2 separate regions of the Homo sapiens genome follow, and region 2 is linked to region 1. Evidence: promoter capture Hi-C in 16 types of primary human blood cells and fetal thymus (Javierre and others, 2016). All regions are on one chromosome and are shown on one strand. The core of a region is centred on a gene start or on the middle of the fragment in contact, and the rest is flanking DNA. Distances in the headings are between cores, read along the strand shown.

Region 1 (6,653 bases), core at 2,538-5,037:
ACAAATACTTGGGTACCACGGTGTGCAGGATGTTCAATCCATAAAATAACATGTTCTGCCACACCTCCACAGCAGAAGAGTCACATATTCTATATATAGCTAATATGCACTGTGCTCCTACAAAGTGCCTGGTCCTGGCACCATGTGAAGTGCTTTACTCTCACTAACCCCTAAAATCCTCACAACTACCCTATGTGGTAGATATTATGATTGACACTTTTTTTTTTTTTTGAGACAGAGTTTCACTCTTGTTGCCCAGGCTGGAGTGCAATGGCACGATCTCGGCTCACCACAACCTCTGTCTCCCGGGTTCAAGCGATTCTCCTGCCTCAGCCTCCTGAGTAACTGGGATTACAAGCATGCGCCACCACGCCCAGATAATTTTTGTATTTTTAGTAGAGACAGGGTTTCTCCATGTTGATCAGGCTGGTCTCGAACTTCCGACCTCAGGTGATCCGCCTGCCTCGGCCTCCCAAAGAGCTGGGATTACAGGAGTGAGCCACCGTGCCCAGCCTTAACACTCTTAAAGAGCCTGAAGCCGACAGAGGTTAAGTAATCTGCCAAAGTTGCACAGCTAGTAACCTGTGGAAACAAGATTCCAACCCAGCAGACTTGATCCAAAATCATCACACATCTTCCCAAGTAAAAGGGCTACAAAAAGATTATACCATTATCTTACAGGATTGAGTTTTAGTTGGGGGCATGCACCCTTTACAAAAAGATTGGAGTAGACAGAGTTAATGTTTTGCTTCCTACTCCACACTGTTCCTAAGGATAGGTTAAAGTTGACCACACAGCCAGGCGTGGTGGCTCACGCCTGTAATCCCAGCACTTTGGGAGGCTGGGGCGGTGGATTGCTTGAGGTCAAGACCAGCCTGACCAACATGGTGAAACCATCTCTACTAAAAATACAGAAATTAGCCAGGTGTGGTGGTGGGCACCTGTAGTCTCTGCTACTCAGGAAGCTGAGGCAGAATTGCTTGAACCCCTGAGGCGGAGGTTGCAGTGGGCCGAGATCACGCCACTGCACTCCAGCCTGGGCCACAGAGTGAGGCTCAGTCTCAAAATAAATAAATAAAGTTGACCACATGAATTAAATCCTCAACCTTACTATACATTTGTTCTATGCTCCCTTTTCCAGAAAGGCCCTATCCTACCCCTCTGACTCTATTCCTATTAGTCCTTCAGACTTCATTTATTTATTATTATTTTGAGACGGAGTCTGGCTTTGTTGCCCAGGCTGGAGTGCAGTGGCACAATCTCAGCTCACTGCAACCTCCGCCTCCCAGGTTCAAGTGATTCTCCTGCCTCAGCCTCCTGAGTAGCTGGGACTACAGGTGCCTGCCACTACGCCCAGCTAATTTTTGTATTTTTAGTAAAAACGGGGTTTCACCATATTGGCCAAACTGGTCTTGACCTCCCGACCTTGTGATCCGCCCGCCAAGGCCTCCCAAAGTGCTGGGATTACAGGCATGAGCCACCGCGCCCGGCCCAGACTTCATTTTAGGTATCATCTCCACGTAAGCCTACTCAAACTCCTCACGATTTAGACTAGCCACTCTTCCTCCCTGTGCTTACTATTGTAGCATCTTCCACACTATTATGATTATCTCACCGGAATGCTCCTCAAGGGGTCTGTTGTGTTCATCATTTATTCCCAGTGCCTAAAAACAGTGCCCAGCATTAGGTGCTCAATAAATATTTGCTGACCCATCTGATCACCTAACCCTAGCCAGCTACAGCTAAAAGTGGAGTGTTAAAAGCAAACAGTGCTAGGGAAGTGCTAGCGCTAAGTGCTAGTATTCTCTAACCCACAAGTTAGAGAACAAGCTCTAAGTTTCATGAAATTTATGACAGACCAAGAAAACAGTATGATACTCTGGAAATAAGGATTATGATAATTTGCCTCCCAAAAAAGGTAAGCAAAATAAAAATCTATTTAAAAAATCACTTGTCCAATTTAATTTCAGTATAATTTCTTTTGTGAGAATGAAGCAGGTATTTGTCACAAAAGAAAACCCAAACCAAATATTTCAGTTACGCTATACAAACTGTTTCAAATCAGCTTAATTTTGACAATTCCCAGAGTTCAAAGACGACTGCCGTTGCTTTTTAAAAGCCTCTCAATATAAAAGTACATTTAAAAATGGGTTCAACTGCACCGCCACAATGCTGAGAGCCATGTGTCTTTTAAGAAATTTATTGCGGAGCGGATGGGTTTCACAATTAATATAGCACAATTAGCGTCAATGCCACTTAAATTTTCTAACCAGATTCAAAAGGGACTTTCCTAGAGCCTTCCCTTTTCCTTTCCTAAACGGGAAATTCGATTAAAAAGGTCACTCTTTAGCTCTTACTTCCACACTAAGTAATTCTGAAACATGGTGAAAGTGCATTATAAGTCCATAGGGCTATGACTGGCAAAATACTTTCCTGTAAATACTAGAGTCAAATAAAATAGAAGAGAGAGCTTGACTTCACTCCGTTGGGTTTGAGGACAGAAACTGATCATCTCCCTCAGATTACTGCTTCTGTTGATGTCTCGAAAAGCACTGAGGCAAATATGCCAGAGTCCCACCCCAAGCGCGAAGAGCCTCCGATTGTTTGACACATCAATGGATTAGTGAATGAGGGCAACTCACTCTTCCCTTCTAATTTACCTTAATTATTCTTCTCAGAAACCCTCAAGTTTACTCTAAGTTATCACCATATGGAATCTTTTCTTTGCCCCAAAGTATAAATTCAGGCCTTTCCCAAATAGCTAGTACTGCTTCAATCGCAACCACTGAAATAAATACCTTAAAAATATCACACATCTACTAATTCCACGCAAATGTGGAAAAAGCCAGTCCAGTCGCCTGAAGAAATAAGGTTCTGGAACATGGTTAAATGATGCATATTTTGTAACAGAAGGCACTGAGCATAGTGGGAGACTCGAAAGCAAAAGACCGGATGGAAATCATGGGAAGACCCCGCCCCAGTAAGCTCGATGCCGATTCAAACAGTAACTTGGATGTGTCGTTTGGAATCGGAATCACTGAAACAAAGGCGTATATTACGGGAAGCAAGATGTCTGGAGTAAAATAAACGGTATGCAGCTACCGAGACCGTACACCGTCCTCCCACAGGTCTTACCTATGGTGGAAATAAAGGTAGTATTGAAGGCATCATCCGAAAAACGAAAAAGGACGCAGGTCTTCCCCACTCCGGAATCCCCGATCAGGAGCAGCTTGAAAAGCAGGTCGTACGTCTTCTTCGCCATTGGGAGGAGCGGCTCGGGCTCTCGCCGCCGGCGGCCCCAAGGGATCGGTCCCTCTCACTACGGCCAACTCCTCACTCGGGCGTTCTCAGGCCGGAGGACCGGGGAAGCGTGGGAAAAAGGCTCGAGACGGCGCGGGCGACCTACGAACAGCTTTGAGGAAGCCCCGACAGTGGCGGCGTCCAGTGCCTCCGAGGGCGGCGACCGCGGCTCCGCAGCCTCTCCCAGCCCGTCCGCCCGGTTCCGGGGAGTCGGTCGGGACAAAATGGCCTCCCCTCCCCCCTCAGGGCTTCTCGGCCGGGACGCTCCCACGGGCGAGCAAGCCTGCTCTGCCGTCGAGGAGGCGCAGCGGGCGTGAGGACAGTCTCTCTCCCGAGCGGAAACTCCCTGCTAGCACGCGGCGAGGGCAGCGAAGAAGGACCCCTAAGTCGACGAGCTCAGTTACATAGCCCCAGGAAACCGAGCCACCCCGGCCAGAGCCACCTTTTCCCCGTGCCCTCTCACGCCGGCGTGCGCGCTGCCTGAGACGCACGCAAGGGCGTACGCCCGCCCTTCCCTCACGCCCTAGCCTTGCGGTCCGCCTCTGCGCACGCGCACAAGAGGGCATGGGGGCGCGCCGAAGTGGCGAGTGGAATGCTCCTGTCTCCAAGCCTCAGTCTGAGGCTGGACCCAGAGGGGAGAAGGGAGGGGCGAGAAAGGGCGAGGCCGCGGGCGCGCTCCCTGTGGCCGCCTGATAGGGTGCGCGGCGTTACGAGCACGCCCCGGGGGAGACGCTACCTAGCGACTGCGCAGGCGCAGCGCCCCCCCTCCGACCCCCGCCTCCCGCCTCCCGCTCCCCGCTCCCCGGGACACCCTTACAGAGCCCAGCACCTCCTTCCCCTCCCGGGGTCTCCCGCTGGACTGCGCTGCGGTTTCTCTGCACAGCGCTTGTCGGGTGTGTTGAGCTGGAGGTCTTGGCGCAGCGACGGGCTTGGGTGGCCATGTGTTCCCGTGTAGGTGGAGCTCGTAAACGCGAGAAAAAGCCGCGCCCTGGGTCATTTAATAGCCTCTTTGCTAGAACGAGACGCCTCCCGGCGTGCCCCCTCTCCAGGGCCAGCCCTGACGGGGAAACATGAGCGCTCCATCCGGATTGACTTCAAGAGCAAGAGTTTGAGATGGAAAAGCTGGCCACGCCGCTCGGGTTGGGATGAGGTAATCCTCACAACCTCTTCCTGGGCGAGGAGAGGAAGGTTGAGGAACACCTGGGCGCAGGAAGAACCTCCCTGCGAAGTGGAGGGTTCTGTGCGGTGCTCAGAGAACCTGCTTCAGGCCTTTGCCGTCCTTCAGGAATCCGGGAGAACCCGAGAGCGCTCTGCAGAGGAGGTGGGGCCTCTGCCTGCCGCCAGCGTCGTACCACTGGGTTGAAAATTGAAAGGTGGTCAAGCCTACTCCCAGTCCGACACAGCCTGCTTCCTCGCATTTTCTTTTTCTTTTTTTCTTTTCTTTCTTTTTTTTTTTTTTTTTTTTGAGATGGAGTTTCGCTCGTTTCCTCGCATTTTCTTTTTCTTTTTTTCTTTTCTTTCTTTTTTTTTTTTTTTTTGAGATGGAGTTTCGCTCTTGTTGCCCAGGCTAGAGTGCAATGGCACAATCTCTGCTCACTGCAACCTCCACCACCTGGGTTCAAGTGATTCTCCTGCCTCGGCCTCCCAAGTAGCTGGGATTACAGGCATGTGCTACCACGCCCGGCTAATTTTTTGTATTTAGTAGAGACGGGGTTTCACCCTGTTAGTCAGGCTGGTGTCGAACACCTGACAGGTGACCCGCCCGCCCCGGCCTCCCAAAGTGCTGGGATTACAGGCGTTAGCCCCCGCGCCCGGGCCCTCGCATTTTCTTTGCATTTGCTTTACCTTCTGTTCTCTCTCCCCATCAGTCCTGTTTACGCCACCCTTTTTCTCTCCTACCCTTCTGTAGTTGCAGTATGCATGCTGCTGACCTTCCATTCTCAGGGACATCCATCCCTCAAAGCACACCTAGGTGTGATGGCACAGGAGTTGAACCTGGTGAGCTGGTTCAACCTGATAAAGTGGAAAACGCTGAAGTATGTGGAAAACAAGAAACAGGGATAGAGAAGTAAAAACTACATTTTCACACACACCACCCCAAGATCGCCAAATCACCAAAATGTGTATTTGATATGTAATTAAAGTTAGACTTTCAGGCAATTCCGTCTTACATTTCTGTCTTATATTTCTGTCTTACATTTTTCCTTTCTTCTCAACCACCCCTAAAGCGTCCTTACCGAAGATACTTGTCTTCACTAATACAGCTTTCTCTTCAGTTGTTTTCTCCAATTGCTCCTAGTCTTGTCACTTAAACATTTTTTTTTTTTGAGACAGACTCTCACTCTACCACCCATGCTGGAGTGCAGTGGCACAATCTCGGCTTACTGCAGCCCTTCCGGGTTCAAGTGATTCTCCTGCCTCAGCCTCCTTAGTAGCTGGGATTACAGGCGTGTGCCACCAAGCCTGGCTAATTTTTATATTTTTAGTAGAGACGGGGTTTCACCATGTTGGCCAGGCTGGTCTTGAACTCCTGACCTCAGATGATCCATCCGCCTCAGCCTCCCAAAGTGCTGGGATTACAGGTGAGAGCCACTGCGCCTGGCCTCACTTAAACCTTCTTATCCTCTATGAATCATTCTGACTGTAGTCGGGAATGCCTTATGATAATAACAATTCTAAAATAGACTAGCTATGCAAATCACAAAGTGAGTGATGGTCAGTGCAGCACAGGTGTGTCGTCAATTCAGCGTCAGAAGGAAAATCTTGTTACCTTGATTATTCCTTTCAAAATAAGTTAGATTAACTCAAGCCTCAATGTTACAAAGTATTTTAAAAGTCTTGAAAGTTTTTAAGCTGGGCACAGTGACTGAACCTGTAGTCCCAGCTATTCAGGAGGCTGAGGAGGGAGGATTGCTTGACCCCAGGAGATTGAGACCAGCCTGGACAACAGAGTGGACTCCATCTGTGAAAAAATGAAGTGTTAAAGGTTTTGTTTGTTTTTAAGACAGGGTCTTGCTTGTTTCCCACACTGGAGTGTGGAGGCCTCACTGCAACCTCAAACTCCTGGCCTCAAGCGATCCTCCCACCTTGGCTTCCTAAGGTGCTGGGATTACAGGTGTGAGCCAACAGGCCCAGCCAAGACTTTTTCCTGTAGAAGGCCTAATTTGGGCCGGGCCTAGTGGCTCTCACCTGTAATCCCAGCACTTTGGGAGACCGAGGTGGGTGGATCGTTTGAGGTCAAGAGATCGAGACCATCTTGGCCAACATGGTGAGACCCCATCTCTACTAAAAATACATTAATTAGCTGAGCATGGTGGCATGCACCTGTAGTCCCAGCTACTCAGGAGGCTGAG
Region 2 (6,653 bases), core at 2,034-4,533, 110 kb before region 1:
GTTGTGACAGCGGACGGAATGTCTGGCACCACACTGTCACTAAGGATTTCACTGATGCGGCCATGATTTCTCTGGAAACGGGCGGTGTCCGTATGCTCCATTGAAAAGCCATTGTCAGCCCAGCACGGTGGCTCACGCCCATAATTCCAGCGCTCTGGGAGGCCGAGGCAGGTGGATCACAAGGTCAGGATCAGCCTGGCCAACATCGTGAAACCCCATCTCTACTAAAGATTAAAAAAAAATTAGCCAGGCGTGGTGGTGCGTGCCTGTAATCTCAGCTACTGGGGAGGCTGAGGCAGTAGAATCGCTTGAACCCAGGAGGCGGAGGTTGCAGTGAGCTGAGATCACGCCACTGCACTCCAGCCTGAGCGACAGAGCGAGACTCTGTCTCAAAAAAAAAAAAAAAAAAGAAATGAAAAGCCATCGTCACAATCATCTGGATCTTCAGCAAGCTGAATGCTCACGTCAGGTTCTCCTCTCTTCATGCGAGACTGCCTCTGTCCACTTTCTTCCTCTAAAGCAGCTTCTGCATGACTTTTTGCAGCATTTATGTAAGCAAGGTTCGTGTGGAATTAGAGGTCTTCATAGATTCATTGTACTCTATCTTTTCTACTTTGTATTTGTTTATTCTTGTTTCTCTTCATCAGTGAGATCTCCCCACATGCCATCAATAAGCTTGCCAATCTCCCACAACTTTAGGTCAGGGTTGGAAGCCTTTACTTGGTCCCAGACCTTTCTGCTGTACCTCATGTAGCACATCAGCGGCTTATCTGGTGGCTTTGGGGGTTTTGGAATCATAATACCAAAGGACGCTGGGACCCGGCTATTGGTGCCTGGGTTGCCTCCCAGCCTGTAGTTGTTGTAGGTGAGATGACTGTAAGGATTGTATCCCACAAACCCTGGTGTACTGGACATTTGTGTTGCAGGAGCTGGGGTGGGAGTTGGGGCATAAGATGGTCTTTTTGACATTTTGGAAGATTAAGTTCTCAGTTCCTTAAGAATGAATCTGAGACTTCATGGGCAGAAAAAGTGCCCCAAGCCCTGGCTTCACTTCCCTTTATCCCATGCATGCCCACCCCTCCAATTTTTTAATTTTTTGTAGAAATGGGACTTCACTGTTGCCTCAGCTGGTCTCGAATTCCTGGGCTCAAGTGATCCTCCCACTTCAGCCTCCCAACGTGCTGAATTACAGGCACCAGCCACTGAGCCCAGCCCACTTCCTATATTATGTCCTAAAGTGGGTTTTTTGTTTGTTTGTTTGTTTGTTTACTACAAATAGCCCCTTCACTTTCAGGACTCAGACAAGCACCTTTGGGACACTAGGAATCCCTCCATGACCCTAAGAAAATGCTGCAAAAATGTTAGTTTTATTCTCCTCTCTTCACTGTAGATTTCCCAGTAGGAAGTAGGGGCACAAGAGATCAGGTTTATTCATTCAACAAATAGCATCGTTCATGCAGTGGGTGCTGTTCTAGGTGCTGAAGACAGAGCCATGAATAAGACAGAAAGAGCCCCTGCCCACTTGGAGCTTCTATCCTAGCAGAGACAGGCAATAAACAAATGAACAGTAAATGTTAATATGTCAGGTGGTGGAAAGAGCTGTGGAGGAAAAAAGAAAGCCAAGTGAAAAGGATAGCGAATTCAGGACTGGGAGAGGTGTTGTTCCTGTCCTATGCAATGTGGCCAGGGAAGGTCTCAATGACAAGGGGACATTTGAGCAGAGACCACAAAGAGGTGTCTGTAATCCCAGCACTTTGGGAAGCCGAGGCAGGCGGATCACCTGAGCTCAGGAGTTTGAGACCAGCCTGGCCAACATGGTGAAACCCCATCTCTACCAAAAAATACAAAAATTAGCCGGACATGGTGGTATGTGCCTGTAATCCCAGCTACTCAGGAGGCTGAGGCAGGAGAATCCCTTGAACCTGGGAGGTGGAGGTTGAAATGAGCTGAGATCACGCCACTGCATTCCAGCCGAGGCGTCAGAGTGAGACTCCGTCTCAAAAAAAAAAAAAGCCTGTGGGCAAGGCAGATCTATTAGGGTCTGTATACATAAAGATGTGTACATATATGTATGGTTTTTTATATGTCAACAATAAAAACAAAACAAAAATGATTTGTAAGTGACCTGTTTCTCCTTCAGATTATCTTTGCTTTCTTGAGGACTTGATTATGCATTCAAAATTATACTGATGTTGTATTTCTAAGGTATCTGTAGTGGAGGAGGGGCGCTCAGGTGCTCAGGTTAGCTGGTCTACTTTAGCACCCGGCTTAAAGCACAAATGGGAAGCTTGATCTGCTCTCCTTCATGCATTCATTCATTCACTCATCTAACTATGCATATATATATATATATATACACACACACACACACACACACACACATATATATTTTGAGATAGGGTCTGCACTCTGTTGCTCAGGCTGGAGTGCACTTGTGTGATCATGGCTCACTGCAGTCTCGACCTCCAGACTTAAGTGATCCTCCCACCTTAGCACCTCAAGTTAGGACCACAGGCACATAGCACCACACCCAGCTAATTTTTTATTTTTTGTAAAGATGGACTCTCCCTATGTTGCCTAGGCTGGTCTCAAACTCAGGGGCTCAAGAGATCCTTCTGCTTTGGCCTCCAAAAGGGCTGGAATTACAGGTGTGAGCCACTATGCCTGGCCTCATTTAACAATATTTCTTGGGCACCTACTATGTGCCAGGAATAGTCAGGCACTGGGGATCCTGTGTGAGGCAGGACAGATTTTATCCTAGCTCTCAGAGAGCTGCTCCCAGCAGAGAGAAAGGTTTTGTTTTTTATCCTCATGATTTTGCACTGTCCCTCAGCTATATCACCCACCTATCAATATTATTTCTTCCACTGGTTTTCCTGGAGACTGTCTTCCTGCTCCCCTCTGGGTAGGTTGCTTCCAAGTCCAACTACATAGCCCCTCCAGGACTGGCCCACACTTGAGTCCCTGTTTTCTGAGTCTCCGGCTTTTCTTTTCCTTGGTGTACTCTTTCCTTTTCCTAGAGTAGATTCCTGAGAAGGACAGCAAGGGAAAAAAACATTTACCTGTTTGCATATCTGAATATGTCATTTATTTTGCCTTTACATTTGACAAGTAAGTTCCTTTTCTATTTTTGTATTTTCTCTCTGATAATTACTTTATGTCTTAGTCTGTTTTGTGCTGCTATAACAGAATACTATAGACTGGCTAATTTATAAAGAACAGAAATTTATTTCCCCCACTTTTTTTTTTTTTTTTTTTTTTAATGAGACAGAGTCTTGCTCTGTTGCCCAGGCTGGAGTGCAGTGGCTTGATCTCAGCTCACTGCAACCTCCGCCTCCTGGATTCAAGTGATTCTTCTGCCTCAGCCTCCAGAGTAGCCTCCCGAGTAGCTGGGACTATAAATATGTGCTACGACATCCAGCTAATTTTTGTATTTTTAGTAGAGACGGGGTTTCACTATGTTGGCCAGGCTGGTCTCAAACTCCTGTCCTCAAGTGATCTGCCTGCCTGGGCCTCCCAAAGTGCTGGGATTACAGGCAGGAGCCACTGTGCCTGGCCTATTCTTCTCTTGAATCATTTTATTTCAGTGGATAGTTTTTATTTTAGAGATCATTTTTTCATTATTTGTTCTTTTTTATAGCATCCTATTCTTAATTTATGGATCCCATGTCATTCAAAAATATTGCTTAAAGTGAGTTTGGGGTTTTTCTTTGGTTTTCCTTACCTTTTTTCCCCTGAAGTCTCCTTTTTATGTTTGTTAGTTGTTTTACTGTCTCTTTTATGTCAACATGAAGAACTGAATATCTGACTCAATCTGGGTGTCAGGTATGTGGATTGTTATTTTTATTTATTTTATTTATTTTTATTATTATTATTTTTTGAGACGTTGTTGCTCTGTTGCCAGGCTGGAGTGCAGTGGCACAATCTCAGCTCACTGCAACCTCCACCTCCTGGGTTCAAGCAATTCTCCTACCTCAGTTTCCTGAGTGGCTGGGATTATAGGTGTGTGCAACCATGCCCGGCTATTTTTTTCTGTAGATTGTTATTAATTTTCCTATACTTTTCTTTATGTTGACTGATTTCGTATATACGGTTTTGGTAGATTGGAAACTTTGTATGTGTTTATATGTCCTCAGAACTGGAGGAATCTGCTATAAGGGGCCTTTTTGTTGGTGAACTTCCATGTGACAGAAGGACTTCCTAATCTTCTGCCTGAGTACATGTATTTGGCTGCTAAAATTCTGGGAAAGGGAAGGAAGAATGAAGGAAAGAAGCTTAGGAGCCCATTATTCAAGACAGGCGTCCACTTCATTCCTTGTTTTTGATACTATGACTCACCTCCACCTCTCTCTGGGCCTGGTGGCCTCACATCTGAAGCCTCTATAGTTTCATTTCTGCAAATAATAAGGCTTGAAGAGGGGTGACAGCAACTCCTGGCTGTGAGGGGTGGGAAGGGACACTTGGGATCCGTTATTTCCTTGCTCCATTTTTAGCCCATTGCCATATGCCTCAGTTGTCCATGGTAACTGGTACCTATAAATCCTGGAACTCTTGGGATCCCATCAGAGAAAATATACCCACTTCTTATCGACATCCCCCTTTGAAAACAATGAGGTTGTAACTTATGCTCCACGTCAGTTAGCTCTGTTTTCCATCTTCCATTTTTTAAAGACTAATATTTACATACATAAAAATTTTAATTCTCACTTGCTGATGTCTCTTGCTCCCTAATTTTTATCTTTGTAGGTTTATACTTTTAAAATTCCGTGTCTGCCATGCTGGTGGGGGTAGGGAGAGATCATTTAATTTTGTGTGGCTATATATTACCCTAAAATCTTGATGGGCTTTTGAGAAATCTCTCATGGCACACTGAAGAAATGCAGTTTCCAGCATTGGTCACACGGTGGCGGAGCGACCCTACGTTTAATTTATAGTTTCTCCATGCAAGCCCCACTGCCAACCCCACAAGAGTTGGGGTATTGGAGTCCTGGCTAATCCAGCAAGGTGGACTACAGAATTGTAGAATATTTCCATTGAACTGTTGGAGAGCTTTCGAGTCCATCTCCTTTAGAGACAAGGAAATGATTCACAGGAGTCAACTAATGTATCCAATACCCGGAAGTAGTAAGAATAAATTTGAACTTTAAATTTTTTTTTTTTTTTTTGAGGCGGAGTCTCACTCTGTTGCCTAGGCTGGAGTGCAGTGGTGTGATCTCGGCTCACTGCAACCTCCGCTTCCCAGGATCAAGTGATTCTCCTGCCTCAGCCTCCTGAGTAGCTGGGATTACAGGCATGCGTTCCCATGCCTGGCTAATTTTTGTATTTTTAGTAGAGACGGGGTTTCACCATGTTGGTCAGGCTGGTCTCAAACTCCTGACATTGTGATCCTCCCACCTCAGCTTCCCAAAGTGCTGAGATTACAGGCATGAGCCACCAGGCCCCGCCTTTTTTCTTTTTCTTTCTTTCTTTTTTTTTTTTTGAGACAGTCTTGCTCTGTTGCCCAGGCTGGAGTGCAGTGGCATGATCTCGGCTTACTAATACCTATCTCAGGTTCAAGTGATTCTCCTGCCTCAGCCTCCCAAGTAGCTGGGATTACAGGCACGTGCCACCACACCAGGCTAATTTTTATATTTTTAGTAGATGCAGGGTTTCACCATGTTGGCCAGGCTTGTCTCAAACTCCTGACCTCAAGTGATCCACCAGACTCGGCCTCCCAAGTGCTGGGATTACAGGCGTGAGCCACTGTGCCCAGACTAAAAGTTATAATTGAAGTTGCCTTTGAATCAAGATGGGACTGTGAATGTATGGAAGTGGGGGTGGGGAAAAGGAGGCCGCTGCATCCCCTGCTTGAATGTGATGGGAGAGGGAAGCTGAAGGAACGTCACCGGTTCACTCACTGCATGTTCTGAGCACCTGCTGCGTGGACAGCAATGCAATAAGATTTGTGAAAACACAAAAAGGACTAGAGTCCCTGCCCACCACTCGCTCACAATCCATTAAAGAGATAAGCCAGTTAACCACAAACAAGGAAGTAGGCAATAAATGCCCAACGGAAAAGCAGGCCAAATGTATTCTTCTCGGGATTTAGAAGAGAAAGGCAACTGCTCTGCTCAGAAGTGGGGAATATACCTGCTGGTGGGATTCGGGCTGGCCTTGGGAAAATAGCATAGGGCCACCTTTCTCAAATTGTAATTTGTGTGAGACTCCTCTGGGGCTTTTGTGTAATCATAGATGTGAATTGTGCAGAGCAGCTGCAGTTCTCAGAAGCTCCCAGGTGATTCCCATGCAGGTGATCTGAAGAACACACTTTGAGTAGCAAGGGTATGGGAACTGGTTCATGAACTTGGCTGCACATGGGAATCACATAGGAAGTTAAAAACGAACAAAAAGCCACTATCATCTCAGGAATTCTGGGGTGCAACCTTGGCATTAGTTTGTTTGCTTATTGTGTAAAGAAAGTGTCTCACTATACCCTCAGGCTGGTCTTGAACCCCTGGCCTCAAGCAGTCCTCCCATCTCGGCTTCCCAAAGTGCTGGGACTCCAGGCATGAACCACTGCACAGAGCCAGTGCTTGTATTTCTAAAAGCACTCCCCTAATGTGCAGTAAAGTTTGCACACCACTGGCATAGTAGATATTTGTCACTCTTTTTGC

Evidence for each region. The method cuts DNA at HindIII sites, captures the fragments that hold promoters and counts their contacts. A CHiCAGO score of 5 or more calls a contact.
Region 2: a fragment that was not itself captured here is called in contact with the fragment with the promoter of RAB10 in region 1 in 2 of 17 cell types (megakaryocytes and M2 macrophages); the score reaches 6.0 in megakaryocytes.

The regions. Positions count from the first base shown.
Region 1 is chr2:26,031,218-26,037,870 of GRCh38, reverse strand. It overlaps RAB10 (RAB10, member RAS oncogene family), which reads right to left and starts at 3,787. Exons shown (of 6, transcript NM_016131.5): 1 at 3,136-3,787. The coding sequence starts at 3,262. It overlaps LOC124907743 (a long non-coding RNA gene), which reads left to right and starts at 4,122. Exons shown (of 2, transcript XR_007086249.1): 1 at 4,122-4,193; 2 at 5,210-5,460. RefSeq lists an enhancer at 3,532-3,581 and a silencer at 3,892-4,121. The HindIII fragment of the contact is 14,591 bases long and covers 1-6,653 here.
Region 2 is chr2:26,143,520-26,150,172 of GRCh38, reverse strand. It overlaps the pseudogene SMARCE1P6. Among named protein-coding and RNA genes, the nearest start is that of GAREM2, 26 kb to the left of the region's middle. The HindIII fragment of the contact is 1,987 bases long and covers 2,290-4,276 here.